Regions from separate parts of the Homo sapiens genome. Here region 1 is linked to region 2. The links are contacts of gene promoters, found by promoter capture Hi-C in human tissues and cell types (Jung and others, 2019). All regions are on one chromosome and are shown on one strand. The core of a region is centred on a gene start or on the middle of the fragment in contact, and the rest is flanking DNA. Distances in the headings are between cores, read along the strand shown. Region 1 holds the start of FOXA2 (forkhead box A2). Region 2 holds the start of PAX1 (paired box 1).

The links. The method cuts DNA at HindIII sites, captures the fragments that hold promoters and counts their contacts. A contact is called where the count stands out against the background at its distance.
Region 1: the fragment with the promoter of FOXA2 here is called in contact with the fragment with the promoter of PAX1 in region 2 in 2 of the 25 tissues and cell types used here (H1 embryonic stem cells and mesendoderm cells).

What each region holds. Positions count from the first base shown.
Region 1 is chr20:22,582,273-22,587,813 of GRCh38, reverse strand. FOXA2 (forkhead box A2) reads left to right here and starts at 3,242. Exons shown (of 2, transcript NM_021784.5): 1 at 3,242-3,622; 2 at 4,660-5,541. The coding sequence starts at 3,536. LNCNEF (lncRNA neighboring enhancer of FOXA2) reads left to right here. Exons shown (of 3, transcript NR_109883.1): 3 at 26-292. RefSeq lists enhancers at 191-945, 946-1,701, 2,457-3,212, 4,637-5,209, 5,210-5,541. The HindIII fragment of the contact is 10,630 bases long and covers 1,564-5,541 here.
Region 2 is chr20:21,702,045-21,707,297 of GRCh38, reverse strand. It overlaps PAX1 (paired box 1), which reads right to left and starts at 1,634. Exons shown (of 5, transcript NM_001257096.2): 1 at 1,300-1,634; 2 at 231-860. The coding sequence starts at 1,585. LINC01726 (long intergenic non-protein coding RNA 1726) reads left to right here and starts at 3,713. Exons shown (of 5, transcript NR_109878.1): 1 at 3,713-3,976. RefSeq lists an enhancer at 3,791-4,395. The HindIII fragment of the contact is 9,805 bases long and covers 1-5,253 here.

The sequences.
Region 1 (5,541 bases), core at 1,993-4,492, 880 kb before region 2:
GGACTTTTATTGTTTTTCTCCTTAGGTATTTCATGGGTTCTCACTTAGGAAAATTGAGTTCTGTTCAATGATGCCCCTTCTGCACTGGTTGGTTTCATGTGACAAAGAGAGCTCTAGGGAGGACTTTTGCTAGGGGAACGCAGATTGTTCCAGCAAGATGAAGGCCTAGGAGACCTGGATGGCCTGGGTGTTTTCTTCCCAGGGAGAGCAGAGGAGGCCTGGATTTGAACTCGAGTCTTATGACTTTGCCATTGAGGCAACATCCAAAATAAAAATAGCATGCTAACCCCAAGCACAGTCCTCAGTTATAAAGCAGCTTTATTATAGAAGCCGGCGGTGACCTAACAAAATGGAAAGGGAAGGGCTCTGTAGGTCTCGGCCCTACATGAGGGTAGACTAAAGAGGGATTGGGAGAAACATCTGCAGCCCGAGGTCCCCGCGAACTTTTTCCTGGAGAGAAACTCCGGGAGCAATCTTCAGCATTCAAGCCTGAGCCAGAACTCTGGATAGCCCTTTAGAAATCAGAACTCCGGGAAGGAGGAGCTCCAAAGACCGCTGAGCTGGAAGGGAACGCGAACCCCAGGCTGTCTGAACGTCCCTGCTTCCTTCGCAGCCCGTTGGTGTCCCGCTCCCAGCTACCTAAAGCTAACCGTAGACCCCGCTCGCATTCCCATGGGCAGGCGTGCCGGGAGGGTGCGGGAGCGGCTGCTCCGAGACTCTAGGAGGCGTCATCCAGCCCTACCCTACCGGAGCTCCCAGAACCTCGCCAGGGTGCAGGAGGCCGTTTTGGGTTCGCGCAGAACCTAGGGGTTGGGGCTCCAAAAAGGCCGAGTCCCCCCGAAGGCGTTTTCGGAGAGACTGGGAGAGCGGGGGAGAAGGTGCTCCGGTGCCGGAGCTGCGGGGTTGGGATCGCGGGGGTAAATGAGGACTCGGGTCGGTCCCGCGGGCCTGGCGGCCGACAGGGGGCGCCCTGTCACTGTGGAAGCCCCCGCCGAGCGCTCTCTGGTGTCCCTGACCCCGGCCACCAATAGTGCTGTGGTGGAGGTGGGGGCTTCCAAAGTCCGCTCCTTGGAAGTGTAGCGCCCCCTTCTCCTGCGGCCCTCCAGCTCGCTCCTTCTGTTCCTGGAATAATTTCTGGGACCAAATTTCCACCCAGGAGCAAAATAGAAAGGGAAGTGGGCACCCACATAAGCTCACAAATACTCTCATACAGCACACGCACAGACTAGGTCAACCATAACATTCTTTTGAGTTTTGGGGGTGCGGTGTGTGTGTGTGTGCGTGTGTGTCTGCCCAGGCCTGCGGAGAAAGCTTTGAAAAATTGCTCATTCTTTGAGCTCCAATGCTTACTCCTCTTTCCCTGCCCTCGGTGGAGTGATGAAGTTGCTCCCATCCACGCGCTAGGTGGGACCCCGTGGGAAATGCTGGGGATCTAGCCCCTCTGACTCCGCTGCGCACACCTCCACGTTCACTACGTAGCCGTACACACCATCAAGCTCCTTCCCTGGCGCACCGGGCTGGCCTGCCCCTCGTGGGAGCCTTCAGCACTCGGGGGACCGATAGGCACGGCTTCCGCGGAGATACAGACCTTGAATTTGTGGGAGAATCCCGCCCTGGCGCTCACTCGGCGGGCTTATTAATGCCCTCTTTATGAAGTGTCCAAACCATCTGCATTTCAGCAGCAAAAGATGCTGCCGGCGGCTTCCTTCTGTGTCCCAAACCGTGCAGACCTGAGAGTCCTGGGGTTAGGGAAGTGGTTCCCCTGTGCCTACTGCTACCTCCTCGCTTGCCTTCCAGCCTCACCCTTACTCAAGCTTCAATGCGAAGCTCCGTGTCTGCCATCTCGCCTGTCTTCTGCCACCATCGCCCCCAATTTTGGACAGGTGGGCTGGATGCCCACTAGTTCCTATGCATTCTCTGTGTCTGAGGGGGTGGGTACAGGGCTGGATCCCCAAGGTCCAGCCAGGTTTTCAGAACCAAGAAAGAGCCTCCACATCCAAACACCTGCAATATCCCCCCACTCCAAATCTGGGCTCACAGGCTAACCCAGAACAGAAGACAATTTTTGAACCCAAGAGCTGCTGGGGAAATAAAAGTATACGATTGCTGGAGTTTCTAATTTCTATTAAGCAGTCCCTCTGGAAGACAGAGAGGACAGAGACGCTCTTGAAGTCAACTCCATATGCCCCATCATTGATTCCTGGATTCTTCTCTCCTCACCCCTCCCTCCCCACCTCCTGCCCTGTTTGTTTTAGTTACGAAATGCTGTGGGCACCTCGGTTGTGACTGAAAAGTAACCTTGAAACACGCCGGCCTGAATATCAGAGACAAATCTCAGCCTCCCAACCGTCGGCCGCTGCTAGAGGGGCTGCTTGCGCCAGGCGCCGGCCGCCCCACTGCGGGTCCCTGGCGGCCGGTGTCTGAGGAGTCGGAGAGCCGAGGCGGCCAGACCGTGCGCCCCGCGCTTCTCCCGAGGCCGTTCCGGGTCTGAACTGTAACAGGGAGGGGCCTCGCAGGAGCAGCAGCGGGCGAGTTAAAGGTGTGTACGTAGTTTTTCTAAATAGGACAGCGCTTTGCAAATTGGCTGTCATGGACTTGCTGTTTTGACAGAGAATGAGCACTGAGAGCGAAGAAACCCGGCATAAATAAATCCGGCTTTCATAGGGATCTGCCGGGCACTGAGGCTGGACGCGCCCTCCGACAGGCGCACCGGGCGCCCGGCGCGATGAGACGGGGCGGGGGCTGGAGGCCGGAGCCGCCCCAGAGGGTGGTTTCCTCCCAGGTCCCTCCTTCCTCAGGGGACTCGCTGTGGACCCGGGAGGAAAGGGGGCTCGACCAGGGATCCCGCGTGCCCGATCGCCCGCCCAGCCCGCTCCCCTGGCCCGCCCAGGAGTGCGGGGCGCCGCGGCGGTGGGGCGGACGGCAGGCGCTGAGGGGCAGGTGCGGAGCGCCGGCTGCGGCTACCTCTCACCTAGGTGTGAGCTGATTATTCAAATGGGCTGCCCCGGGTCTGGGGATTGGAGGCCCGCGCCAGCGCGCCGCGCTATATCACCAGCCTCCCACGTCACTGCGGCACTTGTCCGCTCCGCGGTCCACACCTCCTCCTCCTCCTCCTCCTCCTCCTCCTCCTCCTCCTCCTCCACCACCACCACCGCCTCCTCCTCCTCCTTCCTCCTCCTCCTCCCCACCCCCCCACTAGCCCCCGCGCCGCGCGCTTCCCGCCGCCTCGGGGCAGCTCGGCACTGCCAACCTCAGCCGCCACCCGGCAGCCCGTGAGCGCGGCGGCGGCGGGTGCTCCCTACCGCGGGGCGCTGGCCTGGGCCTCCTCCGCTCCTCGCCCCCCCCCACCTCCCGCCCACTTCCAACTACCGCCTCCGGCCTGCCCAGGGAGAGAGAGGGAGTGGAGCCCAGGGAGAGGGAGCGCGAGAGAGGGAGGGAGGAGGGGACGGTGCTTTGGCTGACTTTTTTTTAAAAGAGGGTGGGGGTGGGGGGTGATTGCTGGTCGTTTGTTGTGGCTGTTAAATTTTAAACTGCCATGCACTCGGCTTCCAGTATGCTGGGAGCGGTGAAGATGGAAGGGCACGAGCCGTCCGACTGGAGCAGCTACTATGCAGAGCCCGAGGTAAGCGCTCGTCTTTTCCAGGGGGAAGTGGAGCGGCGGCGCTCGCTCCTTCCCCAACCTCAGGACCGCTTCCCTCGCTGGCACCCCCCCACCCCGCCCCACAACCCCAGCCTTTCTGGGCAGCCGCCTTTTCCGCCCTCCTTGGAATCAAATGGGTCTCTTTTTTATACGACACACTGTTAGCCTTGAGATAATATTAACTTTGTGATCAAATATTGACTTGCGGCGCCTCCAAATCCTCTTCGTGGCCGAGCCACGCACTATCCTAACAGAGTTATGTTTGGCAGCGCGCGGCTGGGGAGGGGTGGGAGGTCGGCCGGCGAGGGGGTGGGGAGCTGAGGAGGAGAAGATGGGTAGGAGTTGGGGGCTGAAGTGGAGGCAGAGTCAAAGACTAGTGGACAAAGAGAAAGAAAGTTTTTGCCTGCAAAGCTCAGCCGCGTGTGGTTCAGGTCTCGGTTCTTTCCCTATTGCCCCGTTCAGTGCCTCCAGCCGCCCCCGCACTCCGCACAGGCACTGCCTTGCAGTTTCCCTGGGACAAGGGAGGGGGTCCCTGGAGGGAGACCGGACAGAGGGGGCCCGGGACAGTCTTCGCTGGAGGCAGCCCGAGGCGCCCCGCGCGTTGTCCCGCAGGTTGCTTGCTGCGACCGGAGGTGGCGTCCGGGGACTTCGGGCCTCGGCGCCAGCTCAGTATGCTGGTGGGAGAGTTTGGGGAGACTCTGGGGTAGGGGAATGTATTTGGGGTGCTGGCTTGGGAGTACTCCATGGGACCCCTGTTCTAGAATCTGGGCGAGGTGGAGAAGGGCTAGGAACGGGCCACATGCCCAAGCAGCAATCCGCTCGCCACCTTCCCAAGGGCGATCGATCATGACTCTCCCTGAATGAAACAGACTCGGAGTCCGGAGACTGGGCCATCGGGGACGAAAGGGCTCCCCGGAGGCCTCCCCGGACGCGGAGGCCTGGGCGGTGGGTGGGAGGTCTGGGCACCCTCCAGCCGCGGTGCTAACGCTGTCGCCTCCCTCCCGGGGCTCTGTCCGCAGGGCTACTCCTCCGTGAGCAACATGAACGCCGGCCTGGGGATGAACGGCATGAACACGTACATGAGCATGTCGGCGGCCGCCATGGGCAGCGGCTCGGGCAACATGAGCGCGGGCTCCATGAACATGTCGTCGTACGTGGGCGCTGGCATGAGCCCGTCCCTGGCGGGGATGTCCCCCGGCGCGGGCGCCATGGCGGGCATGGGCGGCTCGGCCGGGGCGGCCGGCGTGGCGGGCATGGGGCCGCACTTGAGTCCCAGCCTGAGCCCGCTCGGGGGGCAGGCGGCCGGGGCCATGGGCGGCCTGGCCCCCTACGCCAACATGAACTCCATGAGCCCCATGTACGGGCAGGCGGGCCTGAGCCGCGCCCGCGACCCCAAGACCTACAGGCGCAGCTACACGCACGCAAAGCCGCCCTACTCGTACATCTCGCTCATCACCATGGCCATCCAGCAGAGCCCCAACAAGATGCTGACGCTGAGCGAGATCTACCAGTGGATCATGGACCTCTTCCCCTTCTACCGGCAGAACCAGCAGCGCTGGCAGAACTCCATCCGCCACTCGCTCTCCTTCAACGACTGTTTCCTGAAGGTGCCCCGCTCGCCCGACAAGCCCGGCAAGGGCTCCTTCTGGACCCTGCACCCTGACTCGGGCAACATGTTCGAGAACGGCTGCTACCTGCGCCGCCAGAAGCGCTTCAAGTGCGAGAAGCAGCTGGCGCTGAAGGAGGCCGCAGGCGCCGCCGGCAGCGGCAAGAAGGCGGCCGCCGGAGCCCAGGCCTCACAGGCTCAACTCGGGGAGGCCGCCGGGCCGGCCTCCGAGACTCCGGCGGGCACCGAGTCGCCTCACTCGAGCGCCTCCCCGTGCCAGGAGCACAAGCGAGGG
Region 2 (5,253 bases), core at 385-2,884:
CGATTGCTCTTCTATTTGGGAAATATTTTCCATATTTGTCATAAAAAGTTCAAGATGTCCGAGGTCTCTTACAAAAGGCCCAGGACCCCCAGCCTCCCTGGCCAGTGTGGAGCCCTCCCCTGAGCCAGAACCGGTCCCGGGAGGAGAGCGAGTGTGAGTCCTCTCCTGCAAGCCTGCCCGCCCCAGGTTCTGCCCCTTAATAGAAGGCTACGGAGGCCGCCACAACTGACCTGTTTGCTCCATAAACGTCCGGATGCCCAGGATGTTGCTGACCGAGTGTGCCGAGGGCCATGAGCGCGGGATGCTGACGTGGCCCGCCGTGCCCGGGACCCCGGGGTGGCTGCCCATCTTGGCGCCCGTGGGCGACACGGGACTGGGGTAGGGGTACTGGTAGATGTGGTTGTAGGGCAGCGTAGGCTGCGACGGCGGCTGCTTACTTGCCTCGTACGGTCCGGGCTGCGCCAGGCTGCCGATCTTGTTGCGCAGGATGCGGCTGATGGAGCTCACCGAAGGCACATTGTACTTGTCACAGACGCCGTCGGCCAGCAGCCGGTCGCGGATCTCCCAGGCAAAGATGCCAGGGTCTCCTTGCTTGTAGTCCCGGATGTGCTTGACCACGTTGGGAGTGGTGACGCGGGGCTTGCTCCCCCCGATGGCCCCGGGCAGAATGGAGCCGGTCTCGTTGTAGCGCGCCAGGATCTTGCTCACGCAGCCGTGGGATACGCGGAGCTGCCGACTGATGTCACAGGGTCGGATGCCCAGCTGCGCCAGCTCCACAATGCGCAAGCGGATGGCGTTGGGCAGGGGGCGGCCGTTGACGAACACACCGCCCAGCTGGTTCACCTCGCCATACGTCTGCTCTGCGGATGCGCCAGACAAGAGTGAGCCGGAGGGGGAGAAAACACCCGGCGGGTTAGCCAAGGGTCCCCACGCGGAGCGAGGGACTGCACCCAGGCGCACTTCCAAAGGTGACCTGTGGGTCCCCAGACAGCTCGGAGTCCAAGGGCAAACCGCCTGGGTCTGGCTTGGAGTGGGCAAGGGCGCAGAGGAGCCGCGGAGTGGAGCGCGGCGCATTGTAGCCCTCCGTGCCCTTTCGCGACTTTTAGCGCGTCTACTTGGAACACTCCCTTCCCAGACTTGCTCAACTGCCCCCTGAAGGCTGGGGATCAGAGGAGAATGCAGCTTCTCCAGGACCCAGGACTGGGTCGCCCAGGGAAAGCGGACGAGAGGGAAGGGAGGCAGGCGGACCCGACCCACCTCATCAGCCCTCCCGAGCCCTGCCTGTCGCCCGCCCCTTACCCATAGCGAGCGGGCCGGCCAGCTGCCTGGCGCCGGGGTGGCCGGGGTGGCCGGGGCTGGGCCCGGCGCAGTCCGGGAGAGCTTGGGCGCCGCCGCCGCCGCGTGAGAGGCATAGAGGGAGGGCGCCCGAGAGCCGAGAGCCGCGGCGGCCCAGCCGCGGGCTGGAGACGCGCTGTGCGCGGCAGCGGAGCGCGCTGCCGCCCGCTCCAGGGCCTGCCGCCGCCGCTGCTGCCCCCTCCCAGGACACTCTCCACGCCCGCGACCCCAGGCCCAGGGTGAACTTCATCCGATTGGGAGAAATTCGTCTGACCGGGAGGCTGCAGCGTGCGGGAATCAATTTGACGTGTCCTCCACGTCAATCTCGGCAGTCACGCCGGAGACGCGCGAGTTGGCAGCTCATTGGTTCCCGTCACTGCGCCCCAGCGCCCCCCTCCCCGCCCTGAAACTCTACCCCCTCCTTCTATCCTCCCCCCTCGGCCCTCTTCCACCACCCCCCCGGAACCCACCCCTCTACACACACACACACACACACACACACACACACACACACACACACGTCCCAACCCCAGCTGGGCCTGGGACCTTCCACTGCTCTGAGCCCCTTTCAGCCCCCTTCCTCCTCTAGCTTTGGGAATGAGGGGGAAGTCATCTCAAATTGATTAGTGTGTTAGTACTAGTACTCGTTTTCGTTTTGGTTTTAGTTTTATTTCCGCCACCATTAATAATAAGATAGAGAATAAAAGTTTATCGTGGAAAGGTGTTTCGGGTGTGGCTCTCTCTACCTCCCCACTCCCGGGGCAGCGGCCGGGGAAGGGTGGGATCAGTACCCCAGCTGGCTGGGAGTGTCAAGGTGAGCGTCCAGCGCGGTGCAGGGCTCCTGTCAGGAAGACACAAGGCGGAACTTGTGTCCCATTCCTGGCCAGGTCCTCAATCCTTCTCTCAGGAAATCTTCACGTTTAATAGCCAACCACTCTTGGAATAGTGGGGGTGATTTCGGTGATGCGAGAGGGGCACGGTCCAAATCCTGTCTCCTACAGCCAGGCCCAGCCACCAGAACTCATCCCTCTCCAAGCAGTGACAGAAGGGGCAGGAGGCAAAAGGATCCCGATCTGCTGCTAAGGGGCGCATAGATCCGGCGCCCTCCTGTCCCCAAGCGCGACCGGCGGGAGGCCAAATGCATAGCTCCAGCTCTAGGTCTGAAGGACAAGTTCCTTTCTCCCTGGCGGTGGAATCTCGCACCACTCTATCCCAGGTGGCCTGGCCTCGTCTTTCTCCCAGCACCTGCAGCTTCAGGAAGTCTCTGTTAAACCACAGAATGGTCATTTCTCCTTCATTTAAATGAGGTTTTGCGCAGCCCTGAATTATTCACCCCTGAGATTGAACATCAACAATTTCTCTGTTTCTACCCTGCACCAAAGCAGTTCTGAACTCCCCAACCTGTGCAGCTAACTGTGTCCGGGAGCCATGCGGTGAGGGCCAAGAGGAGGAAACTCGTGGTTTTGAACATGAACTGATTTGAGGGGGTCAGGATCTGAGAGCTCTGAGGTTGAGCCCAGTAAGCACCAAAGGCATTGGGCTGAATGTGCTAGACCAGGAAGAGGGCATAGGGGAGAGAGTAGGAACAGCCGAGGTTTCTGAGACTCCCAGCGCTCCCCTGGAGGAGAGAACCCTCTTCCCCTCCCTCCTGCCCACCCCAAGGGTCTAGCTCTCCTTAGCCACCCAGAGTTGAGTATGGCGCCAGCGCGGTGACAGTGGCTGAGGAGCACATGGACCCTATCAGCCCACCCTGGGGAGCCATGGCTGCGGAGGCCCCGACCCCTTTGCCTCCGCTGTAGGGCCAGAGAGCATCCCTGGCTCCTAATCCACCTGTCTAAATGTATCTGTCAGGAGTGACTGGCTCATAATTCCTGGACTCTCTAGAGAGAGCACGCGGTGGGGCCACAGACAAGAATTACTCCTGGAAAAAGAAAAATCAGGTTTAAAAGAAGTGAACTCTTCCTCTCCGGCGGCATGAACACAGTACAGTCTCTGGCTCTGGGAGGTCCTGGAGACCTGGAGGAGGTTTGAGGGTCAGTGCACTGGCAGGAGGGTGCGAGAGTGGGAGCAGGGGAAGCTATGTAGAAGATTAGGCCTGTCCATGACAGCGTAGGTTTGGAGTAAGGAACAGGGAAAGGGAATGGTTTGGATTAAAGTGGGCACGCCTAAGCCAGGAGTTCCGCGAAGGCAGCGAAGAGAGGACTAAGCACGCACAGTATGCTCGGGGCTCCGGGGGTGCGGGGAGTGGGGACGCACCCTGCCCAGTGCTCTCCATTGCGGAATCTGCTAGCTTCGTCGGGCGCGAGATACCAAGAAAGGTTGATTTCCAGACCTTGGAGTCTCTGAGATAAAGGAACGCCACATCCCTGCCTCAGTCCAGTGGATACTCGTGATCCGGAAAAGCAGCTAAAGCCGCTTCTTCCCCCCAGTAGGTGAGGAGTCAACAGGCACACTCTAAAGACGAGGAAATAAAGCCGGTCGTGACACCGTGAGAGCTGGTTCGCCCAACTACCCTTTCAGGGGAACGTCCACCCCACCTCTGCTGCCGAGCTTGGAAAAGTGGCAAGGAGTCGCAGTCCAGGACAAAACTCCGCCCCCGTCCCCGTGAAGGCCGCCCGTGGCTGGGGGCTACTGTAGAGGGGTGAGTCTGGGGATTGCGCACGATGAGAGGGGGTGGTTCTCCCCGGTAGCAGAGTCCGCGAGCCTTCGTCTCAATCCTGGCCCCTTTCCCGCAGCCAGCTGTGCGCGATCGGGAGCACACAGCCCTCGCTGCAGCCTTCTGCACGGTCGGGCATAGGGAAAACCTTACAGTTTGTCGCCCCCTGTCGTCCCCCGGCCGGGTATCGCGGGTTCCCGAGCTGCAGGCTAGGCTTGGTGAGAGATGGCCCTAAGATGAGATTGCAGAAGGAAAAGAAACGTCTCTCCCACCTCCCAAGGAGGCAGCTTAGCCCTCTCCATGGCCCGGGGACAGCTACTAGTCAGCGCTGAGCGCACAGAGGTAAAGAGCTCGCGGATTCTGCGTTTTTGCTTGGCTGGGTTTGGCACCGTATTTCAGCGTCCTCTGGAAGCGGAGTGCAACAAAGTTCCGCTTCCAGGGTCGCGGGAGCCTGTTAGCTGAGGGCGCACTCAGAAACCTGGGGCAAAACTCCTCCGCCTGGGGCTGGACTCCTAGCAGGGCAGAGGATGGATCTGAGGGTACCCCAGAGGCTTCGGGCCCTCGCCCAGTTTTCCCAAGGCAGGAAAAGAAAGAGAGGTAAACTCTTTGCCGAAAGCGGGAGTCAAAAAGGAGGCGCGAAGGGGTGCCTGCCCTTCTGGGGACTGGGGGTTGGCGGCAAGGGGGGTTACTGATGAGAACTCCCTTGCTGCACGCCACCTGAGCCGTGAACTCAACACCCGAAACTTCACACTGCTAAACACCCAGGGGTTCGGTGACAGGGCCGCTCTTGGAGCTACAGTCGCCCCCACTTCATGTCTCATACTTGGCTTTGATTTTTGGTGGGTTTGTTTCCGGGAGTTAAAACAAGCAATAGGCCGGGATGTTCCCCGGGCCCATGCATTTCAAGGACTCCAGGAGAAACCTTAAGAAAAAGCTGATTTAAGTCCAACTTGGGCATACAGGTGCGCATTTCGGTTCTTGCGGGAAGTAACAGAGGGCAGAAAACACAGGTGGCACTCCCCGAGAGCCCTGGCCAGACTTGGGCCTAACAACGAAAGCTGGTACCCACCAGCAGCAGCCCGCAGGGGCCGCAGGGCCGGGATCCCGGGTCTTCCTCACGACGTCCTAGCCTCAGGCCTTAATAGGCCCGCTTTCGCTCCTGCATGAGTCCTGGCTCTGCTCAGGACCTGCGCTTTTACTGTGTTTTTAAGAGTTTTAAGAGCACTGAGCCATGAGTCCTGTGGTTCAAAATCAAAGTCAAA